Regions from separate parts of the Homo sapiens genome. Here regions 2, 3 and 4 are each linked to region 1. Evidence: promoter capture Hi-C in 16 types of primary human blood cells and fetal thymus (Javierre and others, 2016). All regions are on one chromosome and are shown on one strand. Each heading gives the region's core, a stretch centred on a gene start or on the middle of the fragment in contact. The rest is flanking DNA. Distances are from core to core; before and after follow the strand shown.

The links. The method cuts DNA at HindIII sites, captures the fragments that hold promoters and counts their contacts. A CHiCAGO score of 5 or more calls a contact.
Region 2: a contact is called between a fragment that was not itself captured here and the fragment with the promoter of MCF2L-AS1 in region 1, in 2 of 17 cell types (M1 macrophages and M2 macrophages). The highest score is 5.8, in M1 macrophages.
Region 3: a fragment that was not itself captured here is called in contact with the fragment with the promoter of MCF2L-AS1 in region 1 in 4 of 17 cell types (naive CD8 T cells, total CD8 T cells, total CD4 T cells and 1 more); the score reaches 8.0 in naive CD8 T cells.
Region 4: a contact is called between a fragment that was not itself captured here and the fragment with the promoter of MCF2L-AS1 in region 1, in 1 of 17 cell types (naive CD8 T cells). The highest score is 5.5, in naive CD8 T cells.

Annotation. Positions count from the first base shown.
Region 1 is chr13:112,966,822-112,970,634 of GRCh38, forward strand. It overlaps MCF2L-AS1 (MCF2L antisense RNA 1), which reads right to left and starts at 1,817. Exons shown (of 1, transcript NR_034002.1): 1 at 663-1,817. MCF2L (MCF.2 cell line derived transforming sequence like) reads left to right here and starts at 2,393. Exons shown (of 30, transcript NM_001112732.3): 1 at 2,393-2,637. The coding sequence starts at 2,559. RefSeq lists an enhancer at 1,548-2,067 and a silencer at 2,269-2,328. The HindIII fragment of the contact is 5,254 bases long and covers 1-2,674 here.
Region 2 is chr13:113,411,412-113,415,224 of GRCh38, forward strand. The region is part of intron 7 of ADPRHL1 (ADP-ribosylhydrolase like 1); the gene reads right to left. Among named protein-coding and RNA genes, the nearest start is that of ADPRHL1, 40 kb to the right of the region's middle. RefSeq lists an enhancer at 1-199. The HindIII fragment of the contact is 9,349 bases long and covers 1-3,813 here.
Region 3 is chr13:113,387,750-113,391,562 of GRCh38, forward strand. No RefSeq gene overlaps it. Among named protein-coding and RNA genes, the nearest start is that of GRTP1, 26 kb to the left of the region's middle. The HindIII fragment of the contact is 3,835 bases long and covers 153-3,813 here.
Region 4 is chr13:113,236,642-113,240,454 of GRCh38, forward strand. It overlaps CUL4A (cullin 4A), which reads left to right. Exons shown (of 20, transcript NM_001008895.4): 9 at 182-249; 10 at 2,792-2,910. Among named protein-coding and RNA genes, the nearest start is that of MIR8075, 24 kb to the right of the region's middle. The HindIII fragment of the contact is 404 bases long and covers 1,908-2,311 here.

The sequences.
Region 1 (3,813 bases), core at 567-3,066:
AAGTGTGGACCAGCACATTCAACATCCCAGGAAATTTTGCTAGAAATGCACATCCTCGGGCCCCATCCCAGACCTCCTGGATCAGCAAGGAGCCATCAGAGCCCAGCTGTGTGAGCTTAACAAGTCCTCGGTAGATCCTGACGCAGCCCAAGGCTGGGCAGGCTGGAGGGCACCTGCATGCCAGGAGAGCGGCCGGGAGAAGAGGGCAGGTGCTCAGAGGGAGTGTGGCCTAGGGCCGTGTGGGCTGAGGACCAGGGAGGGTGTTGTGCCTTAGACTAGTGGAAAGGGCAGGGCCTGCATTTCAGGACCCTTCTGCCTGATGACAGGCTTTCCCTGAAGCTGGAGGGGCAGGGTTGGGGTGGGGGGGCGGTGGGGGATGGGGAGTGGTGAAGGTTCCCTGAACTGACAGGGAATGAGAGGAGCAGACCCATTTGAGGGCACTTTTTGCAGACCATGTGTAGACAGGAGGTAGCAATTGTGCCGCCGTAGGCACCCTGGGCAGCCCAGGGAACGCTTGTCCACAGAGGGAGAGGCTCCCATCCACTCTGAGGCCTTTCCAGAGTTCTCCTTTCACTGGTCTCCAAAGAGATTCTGTAGAACCAAGTGAAACTGCTGATACTCAATACGTTTCTCATGTTAAACAAAAACAAAAACAAAGCAGCCATTTCTTACAGATTTATTCAATACTTTCTATCTGGTTATTATGCCTCTTATTCTGTAATTATTTTTTATTATGAATTATTTATTTCCAGATCTGTCTGGCCTATAAGGCCTGTAGGCACTATAAGGGGGAGTACTGCGTCACCTTCATCTTTTTATCCCTTTGGCCTTGCTCCGTGCCTGAAAGCTCACCACACTGGAACGTCCAGGTGCACATGTGCCACTGGACACCGGGATGTTGCCGGATGCTCTTTTGGACGCTGGAATGCTGGTGCATTGTTGCCGGATGCTGGAATGGTGCACGCACGCTCTGTTGGACGCTGGAATGCTGGTGCATTGTTGCCGGATGCTGGAATGGTGCACGCATGCCCTGTTGGACTCTGGAATGCTGGTGCATTGTTGCCAAATGCCGGAATGGTACACGGATGCTCTGTTGGACGCTGGAATGCTGGTGCATTGTTGCCGGATGCTGGAATGGTGCACGCATGCTCTGTTGGACGCTGGAATGCTGGCGCATGTGCACATGTTATTGGCATGAGCTGTAGTTCAAACCTCAGCCATATGATGCTTGAATTCCCAAACCATTCGTGGAAATGTGTACTTCTTCCTGCTGGAATTCTCTCTCTCTCTCTCTCTCTTTTAACTGATTGGGGAGTGAGGTGGGGGGGGGGGTCTTGCTACATTGCCCAGGCTCAAACTTCTGGGCTCAAATGATCCTCCTGCTTCTGCCTCAGCTTCTGCCTCGGCCTCCGGAGTAGCTGGGACTACAGGCCTGAAATACTGTTTCTTTAAGGAAGGGCATGTTACCTATAATACCAAACCACAAAAGGATAGCTGCGGTTTTGGGCGAGGAGAGCTCAGAGAGTTTCTTGCATATGGCCCTGTGATGGCGGCCATGGCCCTGCATAGACACGAGCTGGAATCTGCAGGTGGCAGCCAGGACGCTGCGTGTGTCGAGTGCACAGTGTGGCTTGGTGCCAACCATGGCGAGGGTGGAGAGCCCCGTGCCTGCAGCGCGCGCTTCCCTCACTGGGTCCTGCGTCCTTGGGCAGGCGATGCCCCTGCGGGGAGGGGCTGGTCCATCCCCGGCCAGCCACGGACCCACGCATGGACCCAGCGACCCACGGACCTGCTTACCTGGGCGCGGCGCGGGTGGCATGCGGCCACACGGAAGGGGCGCGCTGGGCTGCTGCGGCCTCTGCAGCTTCTACACCTGCCACGGGGCGGCCGGAGGTAAAGGGAGGCGGCGGCCAGGCGCGGCCCCGCGGAGGCAGCTGCACTCGCTCGGTCCACTCGCGGCTTCGCGGCTGCCCGCAAACCAGGAGGGCGTGGAGACCCGGAACCGGGGGGAAGGGCGGGGGCACTTGTGCGGCACCCGCGGGGCTCCCAGGGGACCTCGGCGGTGACACGAATTTCTAGGTGACCTTGGCGGTGACACGAATTTCTAGGTGACCTGTGTGATACACTAGGTGACCTAGTGACACAGGTGACACTTCCAGGTGACCGCGGCGGTGACCCGCGGGGCTCCCAGGTGACCTCGTTGGTGAGCCCCGGGGCTCCCCGACGACCGCGGCGGTGACACGCGGGGCTCCCAGGTGACCCCGGCGGTGCACTCACAGGACTCCCAGGTGACCCGCGGTGGTGACACACCGGGGCGGGCGCGCGCCGCTTCCGCTTCCGCCGAGCCGCCCCCCGCCCCCCGCGGCGCAGCGCGCGCCCCCCTCCCGGTGGCGCGGAACCAATCCTGGGCAGGGAGGCGGCGGCTGGAGGCTGAAAGCGCTGCCGTGGCCCCCTCCCCGCCTCCGCCGCGCCCCCTCCGCACTCGCACGGCCCCACCCGCAGGCGCCCCCCGTGCGGAGGAAGCGGATCTGCCAGGATCATTTTTGTTGTGTCGGAGGATGAGGTTTTGGCTGAGGACTGAAGAGATGGCCTTGGAAGAAATGGTGCAGAGATTAAATGCGGTTTCCAAGCACACGGGTAGGAGGAGCTGCTGGCCGTCAGTGATCTGTGCTTAAGCTTGACATCATGGGCTGAAATGTGGGGAAATGCGTCTGATTTTTGTAAGCCGCCCTCGTGTTCCTTTCTAGCCGTGGTAGCTGTGACATGGGGGGCACTGGTTGGCAGCTGGTGTGTTTTCAGAGGCTGTCGGCGATCGTATGCTGCCCGGGATAGTCAAAATGACTGCACGTTGGTGACACTGGCTCTCTCAGGGTTGCTGGGTCTGCATGCGGAGCCATTTGTGTGTCTGAAGTCTGCCCATCAACCTGCCTGTCCGCAGCCCTCGCAATGGAGAATGCATTGCGAATGGAGAATGATCTGAGCCAAGGGCTTTCAGAGCTTGGGGTTTCAGAGCCAGGGGTAGGGATGGTGAAGCTACCTGGAAGCTCGTTTTGAGGATGAAAAAACCTGGACTAATCAGGTGGTTCTTTTCTTCATTAAATGCAATTTAAACCTAAGACAGATGTTTGAGACGGTATGGGTAAAGAGTGGACTGGACGTTCATTTTCAGTATTAATCGAAATATTACTTCAAATAAGCTTTGAAGAGTAGTTCAGATCGATTCTTTTAGGTGTAAGCAGAGACTGGGCTGACAGCTTGCATCTGGCCGTGGCTTTCAGGCGGTCGCATCTGAGTTCTCAGGCTGTGTTATGCAGAAGGGAGAGGCATCCTTAACTCGTTTTCCTTGAAATGAAGAGGAAATAATGATATATCATTAAAAGTAAGTTGCCAAGTGTTTTGCCTGATGTTGCCATATGTTATGTCATATATGCCATTACTAGTTGTCTAACTAGTACTTGCCTGGGAGATTAAAATGTCAGTTGCTTGGTTTGGGTGTGGTTCTCTTTCTCTGCCCACCCCGATGGATTCTGAGAGTGAACCAGTGATTAAATCAGCATAAGCACCATCGTATGGGATGGTCTAATCAAGATGTTTTTAATGGGGGCTTTTATGATCAAAGCTGCTGGGTTTATTGTATGTGGGTCGAAAGAAAACAAAACCATTTTCATGCCGTCTGCTCCCTGATTCTTAGAGAATCAGCTCTTTTTCTGAAGCTTGAGTGGAGCTTTTCCGTGCAGGGTTTGCAGGGTTTGAGTATGGTGAAGGGCTGCGTGGATGCCAGGTTCACAGGGAGGCTTCCGATCGGCTGTGGGG
Region 2 (3,813 bases), core at 429-2,928, 440 kb after region 1:
TGTCCTCCTTATGAGTCATAGTGGCTCAAAATCCAGTTTAGCTCTTCCACCGCACATCTAAGTCTGTAACCACTTATGAGGTCAGCGTGTCATCAAGACCTGGCCAGCAACCAGCGGTGAGCGTGGAGGACGTACTTGGCCACCCGGTCCAGCTCTTCAGCTGTCACAGCCGGCTTTCACCCCGCAGCGTGATCATCTGAGACACGTTTTCACTCACAGAGATCAGGATGCTCTTCTGGGTTTATTGGCTGAGGATTAGGGGATTCGGCCAGAGCTACAAAGTCCTCTTTGGGGTGAGCCCCGCCTTGCTGAGGTGTCCTCAGCCATGGACCTGTGGCTGTCGGAGGCGTCCGCGGTTCAGGATGACGCCCTTGGCGGGAGCGAGAGGGGTTTCCACAGCCCCCTTCACAGAGCCTTTGTGTTTTGCAATCATCATTAACCAAGTTCCTCCCTGGGTCTGGCCTGGCCACTCCCCTGCTCCCTGCTGTCCTGCCATTCCCCTGGGCTGCCCCTTCTCGTCACAAAGTCCTGCGCCCACCGCCCACTATTGCGCTCACCCTCTCTGGTCCCCGCCCCTCGTGGTAGCCCCAGAGGTGCTGCTGTCTTTGGGTTCCTTGAACCTGCGGGTGGTTCCTTCTTCCGGGGTCTACTCCCGGCTCAGCATGTTCTGTGCTCTGGGTTTCACTGGTTGGGGGATTCTGGGAGCCCCCAGCTCAGCGTGTGCTGCTGCTGCTGGCACATCCCGGGTGACTACTGTCACAGCACTATAATTTGCTTTTTTTTTGGGACGGAGTCTTGCTCTGTCGCCCAGGCTGGACTGCAGTGGCGCGATCTCGACTCACTGCAAGCTCCGCCTCCCAGGTTCACAGCATTCTCCTGCCTCAGCCTCCCGAGTAGCTGGGACTACAGGCGCCCGCCACCACGCCCGGCTAATTTTTTGTATTTTTTAGTAGAGACGGGGTTTCACCATGTTAGCCAGGATGGTCTCGATCTCCTGACCTCGTGATCCGCCTGCCTCGGCCTCCCAAAGTGCTGGGATGACAGGCGTGAGCCACCGCGCCCAGCCACAGCTCTATAATTTTCTAAGATCCGAGTGCACTTTTCAACAAGTCACCCCTGTTTCTGCCCAGCTCCCCACTAGAGCAGAGCCCCTGCATGGGCGGGACCCCTGTTGGTTCTGGTCTCTACTTTCCCGAGTCCAGAGCAGCGTTGGGCACAGCCGGGCGGGCTGGCAGAAGACCCGTGGGTGGCGAACAGCCCCCGTGGAGGCTCGGTTCACCCACCGCCAACAGTGCCCCGGAGGCTCAGTTCACCCACCGCCAACAGTGCCCCGCGGAGCTCGGTTCACCCACCGCCAACAGCGCCCCGCAGAACTCGGTTCACCCACCGCCAACAGCACCCCGCAGAACTCGGTTCACCCACCGCCAACAGCGCCCCGCAGAGCTCGGTTCACCCACCGCCAACAGCGCCCCGCAGAGCTCGGTTCACCCACCGCCAACAGCACCCCGCAGAACTCGGTTCACCCACCGCCAACAGTGCCCCGCAGAGCTCGGTTCACCCACCGCCAACAGCGCCCCGCAGAGCTCGGTTCACCCACCGCCAACAGCGCCCCGCAGAGCTCGGTTCACCCACCGCCAACAGCGCCCCGCAGAGCTCGGTTCACCCACCGCCAACAGCGCCCCGCAGAGCTCGGTTCACCCACCGCCAACAGCTCCTCGCAGAGCTCGGTTCACCCACCGCCAACAGCGCCTCGCAGAACTCGGTTCACCCACTGCACAACCCTGTTTCTCTCCTGGCCACCCCCTTTTCTGCCAGCTCCAGCCTCCACCCTGTTTGTCCACTCCACGCCCAACCTCGCTGTGCCCTTCAGCCTGGAACAGCCTCGCTGCCTCCCTGACGAGCTCCTATTCATCCTTCACAACCCGGCTCAGATGCCCCCACCTCAGGGAGCCTTTCCCAGAGGCCCAGCTCTGTGAGCCCCACGGTGACCCACACAGACCTCTATGTCCCCACAAAGGGGAACAGCGTGGACGCCAGGAACGCCCCCAAGTCATGGACTGAGAGGGGGGCCCAGGACTTTCGGCGACTCCCGCGTGGGGCTCTGCGTGTCTCCCGAGGCGCCCTGTGATCGGGGCCTTCACTTGCTGTGAAGGTGGGCCTCTCGCCCTTTCCCACCCCTGCTGCACACCTTGCTGCTGAGTGAACGCGTCCTCATGCGCTGGAGCCAGTGCTGCCCCTTGGGCCGTCAGCCCCACCCCTCAAAGCCTCCTGAAAAGGCCCCCGGTCAGAGCTGCGCTGGCGGAGTCTGGGCTGCCCTGTGTGACCGCTGCCCGCCCAGCAGTGCGGGGCGAGACCGGGCCTCCCTCAGCGTCCCCTCAGCACTTGGACAAGCTGCAGAACCCACAGGGAATGGAATGTCTTCCTCCCAGGGGCCAATATAAACAGCAGGGTGCCCGGCTTTCCTAATTTAGTTGTTGGTGGCTCTGGCCAGCCAGAGAGGTCGTTTGAAAATACAATGAGACTAGAGGCCATCACAGCGCAGGAGACACACCCGGGCCCACCATGATATGGACAGCAGCCCCTGTTGGCAGGTTCTTTGCTGGGGACTTTCTGGCCAGCAGGGCCTGGAGGTCACTGTTCTGCCCAGTCAGTGGCTGTGCTGGGCTCACCCGAGCCTGGCCCTGCGGCAGGGAACACCCTCAGCCGCAGTTTCCTCCTCTGAGAGAAGGGCAGGGCCGGTTTCACGTGGCAGCTGGGCCTGCAACTGTCTGGCTGTTCCAGGAGCCTGCTCAGAACACGGACCAGCCTCAGCCATGTCACACACATCCCTGTGCCAGCCTCCACATGTTTCTGACAGGGACACTTGGATGCCCTCGGCCAACAGCGCTTAGAAAACATGTCCTGGGCCTCCATCAACACCAGAGGCCTGCACTGCCATTTCCTGCCCCTCTGCGGATGAGCCTGGAGCCGCCCCCCCTTCCTCCCCTTGGCAGATTGGCCCCCACCCTCCCTCCCTCAGTCCCCAGCCTCCCTGCCCTCTGCGGCTCAGCCCCCGGCTTCCCTCCCCTCTACAGCTCAGTCCCGGCCTCCCCGATATGCTCTCAGGGCACTACAGGCCTGTCTGGGGGCACACATCCTGGCTGTGGCTCCATCTGTGCCTGTGGAACTGCTCTTGTCGCTGTGGTGCCAATGCTCCTCTTCCAGGGGCAGGGCCACGTGCCTCTGCACATCTCCCTGAGTGTGCTGAGCAGGGGTCTTCTGTTTTCTGTTTTTTTTTTTTTTTAGATGGAGTCTTTCTCTGTCACTCAGGCTGGAGTGCAATGGCGTGATCTCGGCTCACTGCAAGCTCCGCCTCCCGGGTTCAAGCCATTCTCCTGCCTCAGCCTCCCAAGTAGCTGGGATTACAGGGGCCCGCCACCACGCCCAGCTAATTTTTGTATTTTTTTAGAGATGAGGTTTCACCATGTTGGCTAGGCTGGTTTCGAACTCCTGACCTCATGATCCATGCCCCTCAGCCTCCCAAAGTGCTGGGATTACAGGCATGAGCCACCATGCCCAGCTCAGCCTCTTCTGTTTTTATGGCTGCTTGTTCTGTGCCCATTTTCCCCTGAAGCCATGAAGATCAGGGAGGGCGACACCTCCCTAGGTAGCCAGCGCCCAGCAACCCCCTGGGGCAGGTGAGGAGAGGGGAGGGGCCGTTTGGCAGCTGCGGTGGCAGAGTCCCTTCCACAGCTCATGGACAGAGACACTGGGGCTGCACCTTTGGGCTCCTGGGGTTCTTGCTGGTCAGCCTAGAGGGACGAGAGCCCTTCT
Region 3 (3,813 bases), core at 820-3,319, 420 kb after region 1:
ATTTTATCAGAAAATTTAAAAGTATAATGCCTTTTAGTTCATGTGACTTAAGTAATTTTTGGGAAATAAAGGCAGCTTTAAAGATTATTGGTAAAATAAAAATATCTTCAAAAATGTAAACATTTGGTCTAAATCATGCAGGTCAGATTTTAAGCTTGCTAAATGCTTTAAGGTCATAAACTGCTTCTTTGACTTTTGAAAACCGTTCAGTTCACCTACCTTGGAGCATTAGATTGTAGATTAGGCTAGGGGCCCTAATGCAACAATGACATTTGGCTTATTTGGTACAAGAATCTTTTTTTTTTTTTTTTTTTTTTGAGACAGAGTGTCACTCTGTCACCCAGGCTGGAATGCAGCAGCACAATCTTGGCTCACTGCAACCTCTGCCTCCCGGGTTCAAGCAATTCTCCTGCCTCAGTCTCCTGAGTAGCTGGGACTACAGGCTCATGCCACCATGCCCGGCTAATTTTGTATTTTTGGTAGAGACAGGGTTTCAGCATGTTGGTCAGGCTGGTCTTGAACTCCTGACCTCAGGCAATCCACCCACCTCAGCCTCCCAAAGTGCTGGGATTACAGGCATGATCCACCACACCTGGCTTGGTACAAGAATCTTACAGGAAGCATTGTCAAATATAAAATGGTATTTGGTTTTCTTTGGGCTGTATTTGTATATATAAATGTGTTATTGGTATGTGTTCCAAAATTACTTTTAAAACTCCTATAATTCTCACATGATTTAGTGTATGTTATTAATAGATATAATTGTTATGTAAAATTTTGTATGCCACAGAAGTAATCAAATTTCCTTATCAGTTGTGGCTTTAATGATGGCTGTCCGAAGATGTTTTGTCATCCACAAACAATGGTTGTCTTGTTTTGGTCCTCTTTAGAAGGTGGTTTATAATCAGCTACAGGACTTTGACAGATGTTCTTGAGTGCAGGTTTCCGATAACTGGTGATGGTGACATCAGAATAGAGGAAAAAACTTTTAGAATTCTTATGGAGAGCTGAAATGTCCATGAATATCAAACAGAAGTTAACTACATGGACTAAACTAATAGAAACCAGAAGTAATCTTTTTAACTTTTTGCTTAAAATATTGCTGATCCTTTGTTTTGTTTTTCAGAATCAAGGAAACTTTTGAGCGAGTTATAGCTTTTAACAATTGAATAAGTATACTTGTATGAATAAAATTTGGAGCATATTTGTTTCTCTCTACCTAATTTCTCCAAAATTTGGGAACTAGTTGTGAGTATTCTTAATTTATGGCAATATAGCTATTTGCATAAGTGCAATAAGAATCTGTTTTCTTTTTTTTTTTTTTTTTTGAGACAGAGTCTTGCTCTGTTGCCCAGGCTGGAGTGCAATGGTATGATCTCGGCTCACTGCAACCTCCGCCTCCCAGGTTCAAGCAATTCTCCTGTCTCTGCCTCCCAAGTAGCTGGGATTACAGGTGCCAGCCACCACACCTGGCTAATTTTTGTATTTGTAGTAGAGATGAGGTTTCACCATGTTGGCCAGGCTGGTCTTGAACTCTTGACCTCAGGTGGTCTGCCTGCCTCGGCCTCCCAAAGCGCTGGGATTACAGGTGTGAGCCACTGTGCCTGGCCAGGAATCTGTTTTCTTTTGCAACAGGACACAATTGGAGAAACTGCTTATTTTACCAAGGATTTGACTAGAATGATGTGTTTTCCTTTAAGAAATTAAACGTGACTTATAGAGCTGATAAAGCCCCTTGGGAAAACTGACCTGATACGTTCTCTCCACAGTCCTTATACAGAGTTCCTGACCCGTGGTAAGTAAAGAATGTCACTTTATGCTGGGTGCGGTGGCTCATGCCTGTAATCCCAGCACTTTGAGAGGCTGAGGCGGGTGGATCATGAGGTCAGGAGATTGAGACCATCTTGGCTAAGATGGTGAAACCCTGTCTCTACTAAAAATACAAAAAATTAGCGGGGCATGGTGGCGGGCACCTGTAGTCCCACCTATTCAGGAGGCTGAGGCAGGAGAATGGCATGAACCCGGGGGGGCGGAGCTTGCAGTGAGCAGAGATCATGCCACTGCACTCCAGCCTGGGCAACAGAGCGAGATTCGGTCTCAAAAAAAAAAAAAGTCACTTTCTCACAGGCCCAGGAGCCCCAAGTTATCTTGGAAACTCAAGAGGAGAGAAATTTACTCAACTTACAGGTATTTGAGGGTACAAACCCATGGCGGGGCTCAGTTCTAAAAGAGTCTTAGCTAAGATTCCTTCTACGGAACAGAGTTCCATCAAAGCCAATTTAAAAAGAACCTATGTGAAAAATATTCTTGCTGCCCTTTATACAAATAATCAGGCCAAGTATAATAAAGTAAATCAGTCTTACCATGATTTGCCTTTAGTAAAAATGGGAAACTAGAGAGAGAAATATTATGTTTCAGGAACTGTGGTATGTTGTTTTTAAATTCTAGTCTCATCAGTTGTTTTTAGATTTGCTTCTGGAATTTAGGCTAACCTTGCTTATTCCTGTGAACCAACCAGTGAACTCTGACTGCTGCTCAGAAGAAATAAGAGGGATGGGTAATGTAAAAATCTGAATCAATATTCTAATTCTGGGCACACTAGAATTGGCTAGCAACCTCACATCATCTTGGTTCCAATAGTTGCCCAGTTCATGAAAAGCCTTCTAATTTAGTTTACTTGGAATAATTGTACTTATTTTGCTTTACTATTGTGGAATATATTGTTGTTGTACTCTGTGTAGGTATGCAAAATAAACTTGCTCAATGTTTTCTTAAACTGAACACTTATTAATTGCCCAGATATCACCTTTTGTTGGAACTTAAGAGTTATGAATAGCCCTCACCACACTGATGCCTTCTGACTGTGCTCCTCTCTACCCTGAACACAAGGGACCCTAATAGTTAGGCAGGAATGTCATCGCCCCTATTCAGCCTGAAGAAGTTACAGAAGATGGATCTTCATCCCCCTGCAACTCTTAGGATTAAGGGTTCTCTTATAAAAGGGAAAGAGAAAATGTCAGGCATGTTTGAACCAGAGCAACTCCATCTTGAGTAGGAGCTGGGTAAAATGAGGCTGAGACCTATTGGACGGCATTCCCAGGAAGTGAGACATTCTAAGTCACAGGATGAGATAGGAGATTGGCACAAGATATAGATCATAAAGACCTTGCTGATAAGACAGGTTGCAGCAAAGAAGCCGGCCAAACCCACCAAAACCAAAATGGCCACAAGAGTGACCTCTGGTCATCCTCACTGCTACACTCCCACCAGCTCCGTGACAGTTTACAGATGCCATGGCAACGTCAGGAAGTTACCCTATATGGTCTAAAAAGGGGAGCATGAATAATCCACCCCTTGTTTAGCATATCATCAAGAAATCACCATAAAAATGGGCAACCAGCAGCCCTCAGCTGCTCGCCTATGGAGTAGCCATTCTTTATTTCTTTATTTTCTTAATAAACTGGTTTCACTTGTCTCTATGGACTCGCTCTGAATTCTTTCTTGCGCGAGATCCAAGAACGCCCTCTGGGGGTCTGGATCGGGACCCCTGTCTGGTAACAACTGCAGATATCTCCCTCCAACACATTGAGCTGTGTGTTGATGTCTTGGAACTTGCTAGCTGTGAATTAACCTAACAATGCCATCCCCCACCCTGCAACCCACACCCTGCAGCTCAACGGTGCACAGCCCATCACTAATCAATGTTATTTCTGTCAACCAACAAGAATTCCTGAAAAACAACTTTGTATCAGCCACTCCCTGTTCCCCTTTTTGCCTTTAAAATCCTGATTGTAATAAAGGCCTAATGGGGCT
Region 4 (3,813 bases), core at 860-3,359, 270 kb after region 1:
TTCCTTCAGCGTCATTAGCAACAGGAGTCGTCGTCCGTTTGCATGAGGAAATGTTCTTAACCTTCCGTTTCTGATTGCCTCTAGACTGCATCTGTCATAGACAAATGCCCCCATCTTTTGCAGAGAACCAGTCTCTTCTTTAAACTTTACTTCTAACGCTTATTCTTTTTACCTTATATAGGAAACCACTGATTGCTTGTGTGGAGAAACAGCTATTAGGAGAACATTTAACAGCAATTCTGCAGAAAGGTAGATTTCCTAACTCTTGTGCAAATTAAACTGAACAATTATCCTTAGTTCATTAGGAAAGTAAAGGGGGCATTACAAATAGCAGTGTTAGGACGTTTGTTATTTTCATAAGACAGTCATTAAAAATCTTTTCTAATGAACATGTTAGCCATCCACGGGAGAAAAAAAAATCAGTAAGAGAAATAATGGAAGGCACCTAGTGGAACTACATTCACTGCTAAAACCCCAGTGGCAGGAAGGCCCGGCAGACCTTCTGTACCACACTCATGCTGAAACATGGGTGCAGTGAGCCTGTTGCAGCTCTCTGAGCAGACTCATTTCCTGTGTCCGGCCGTTCTTCATGCACACTCGGATGTAGGGGACTCGGGGAGCTGTTCGGGCTGTTAGATTTTCGTGAGGCTTCCCTCACCTGCGGACTTCGTGCATCTTAGTGTCAGATGAACTACCGACTAGGTGGTCTGCTTAAGCAGAGTATACTTTTCTCCTGGTTTTCTGGAAGAGAAGAGCATGTGTTCTAGTGCTGACGGCGCGGCCTTCACGTCCGCTTCTCCCCAAGTGGTGGCAGTACCTGGCCATAGGAAGGTGGCTTCTAGCAGCCTGCACCTTTAAAATTGATGCTGATGTCTTACCTCGATCTTTGTTTATTGCTGTTTTTTCTAGGCTTCAAAGTGTGCTGAATTCTATGAAAATTACAATGAGCAGTCTAACCTTTGTAACACTTTAGTACTTACTGGCACATTTCACTGTTACCATTTGAAACAATGTTACCTTCTGAAAGTCATTTTAAATGTATTTGGAAAATACGAGACTTTTTTCAAGCCATTGGAAACCTTAAAGTTTAATTTTGAGAAGGCCCTAAATGGTATTCAAATATATTCTGCTTTGGGTTCTACATTGTCAGATAATAGTATTATGGCTAATGAGATACTTAAGTGAAACCAGAATAAAACCAAAAGGGAGGAGAATTAACATGATTGAGCATCTCCTGTTACAAACAACTCCACTTGATGTGAATATCTTTTCAAGCAATTCTGTGAAATCATTATCCCCATTCTACAAATAAGAAAACCAGGGCTTAAAACAGCCAGATGTTGGTGCCTGGAATCACATTGCTTGTGAGCTGAGAGTCACGGGTCCAATCTGGTTATGATGTTTCTGCTTATTCCACACTGAAACCTACACATCACCTATCCACCTAAAAACAAATGCATTCAGAATTTGTGTCAGGTGTTTTTATGAAAGGAGTCACTTTATAAGAAAAAAGGCCAGGCATAGTGGCCCATACCTGTGACATCAGCACTTTGGGAGGCCAAAGTATCACTTTGGATCACTTGAGCCCAAGAATTCACGACCAGCCTGGGCAACAAAGAGAGACCCTGTCTCTACCAAAAAAATAAAAATAAAATTTTTTTTTAAAGCCACAGGTGGTGCATGCCTAGGGTACCAGCTACTCAGGAGGGTGAGGTGGGAGGATCACTTTGGCCCAGGGGGTTAAGGCTACAAAACTACAAAAACCTGGGTGACAAAGCAAGAGACCTGTCTCAAAAAAAAAAGAGAAAAAAGATTTCAAGTAAATAGTAGAAATTTGCATAAATTGTTCCAGTGCATACTTTGTTAAGCAAAATTATTTAAAGAAAATGGTAAATTATATATGTAAAAGCTTACCCTAAATTTTATTAGAAATATTTTAAAAATTAAAAAGATACTTTTGAATTCTTAAGACATGGGTTTTAGTAAAATAAAGTATAAAAAGTTTGTGTCAGTAGATCAGAATGTAATTGAGAGAAATAAACATTTGGAGCTCTAGGTGAGGATTGTAATTATAGCCCCACCATGTGTTTGCGCACAGCTTTAAACCTCCTCGTTTGTGTGAACATCGTGCCCAGTGTAGGCAGAATCTGAGACTTTGTGAATTGTATGACTGTTCACCATTTTATGCTTTAACCTGGCTGCCTCTCAGTAGTTATCATAAAGCAAGTATTTAGAAAATCTATGAGAGTTTTTCTCATTGAGGTATGGTTTCAGAAAACCGTTATAAATATTAAAAATCTAAAACACTGAAAGCTTTTTTAAATGCTGTGTTAAACACTTCAAAATATCCGATGATGTTTTTCTCTTATAGTTTACTATAGGTGTGAATAAATTTAATCCACTATAAATTAGATTTGATAGCTTGTCCTTTTACATTGTCTGGCCGATGGACTAAATCAGAAGTAGATTGAGAACATGAACCTCCCAGGTTAAATAGTTGGTGTAAACTGGATTTTCTGACTTGCTAACTTAAGTGAAATAAGAGGGCTTCAATGACATAAAGAAGTAAATAATACATCTTCCAACATACTCAGAGAAAATGAGGTTCACCTAATAGGATCCATCTCACATATTTAACCAGATCAACCTGCTCATGTAGAGGCAGCGATGTGGAGACCCGCCCAATTTCTAAGCGGTGTATTGACGTTCTTCTGGTGCACGCTGTATTCTAGTTGAGTTGTTGTTAATGCTGCCCATGCTGTACTCTGCTGACGTGTACTGCACATCTCAGGGCTCGACCACTTACTGGATGAGAACAGAGTGCCGGACCTCGCACAGATGTACCAGCTGTTCAGCCGGGTGAGGGGCGGGCAGCAGGCGCTGCTGCAGCACTGGAGCGAGTACATCAAGGTACTGGCGGGGTTTTGAGGCCGCGGGCGTGGGCATTCCCTGCAGGGAGCAGAGCCCCTCCTGAGAACGCCTAGTGTGCCCTGGCAAAGGGAACTGGGCTGCTGGAGGGCCCGTCTGCATTTTCATCACAGATGATAGGGTGGACAGTAGGCTTCCATCTGCTTCCCAATCACCAGTGTGAATTTGCTTTTTAGGATAACACCAGCAGTGATTAGCACCATCAAGGTAGAAAGTATAACTTAAAGAACAACTGTTTTGCTCTTCTTCATCAGCATAAATATTGGTTTAATTCTAAATCATGATTTTTCCTAAAGTAATCATTTTTGTAAATCTGCTTGTCAGACATGATCTCCTCATGCCCTTTCCTCAGGGAGAACTATTATATATTTGGCATATCAGTTTGCTTTATAAACTTTATTTCTTAACGGTCCAAATTTAGGATTTATTACTTAAACTTTCACTTTCATGTTTCGAAAGCATTTCTTTGGCATCCCTAACAAGCCCAGTCCAACCCGTCGTAGAGTGGCTTCTTGGGCAGTACCCTGAGTTTTCACATGTCCTGTGCAGGAGAACGGCCCTTTGGTGCTGACATAGGACCTCCCTGAAGACTAGGGGCTCTCGGCCCAGGGCACCACCCCACCAAGGGGACATTTGTTGATGTCTGGAGACATTTGTGGCTGTCTGAACAGAGAGGGTGCGGCTTGCTTTGCTGGGCAGCACCAGGGGTGCTGCTGAATGCACAAGGCAGCCCTCACCACAAAGAATCACCTGCCCAGAGGGCCAGAGTTGCCCAGCCCAAGAAACCTGCTGAAGACCCTCTAATGAGAAGCCATTCTCCAGATGCCCCTCACAGAAACAGGAGAACTGAGGCAGACATCAGGGCCCCTTCACAGATAGCTCGTG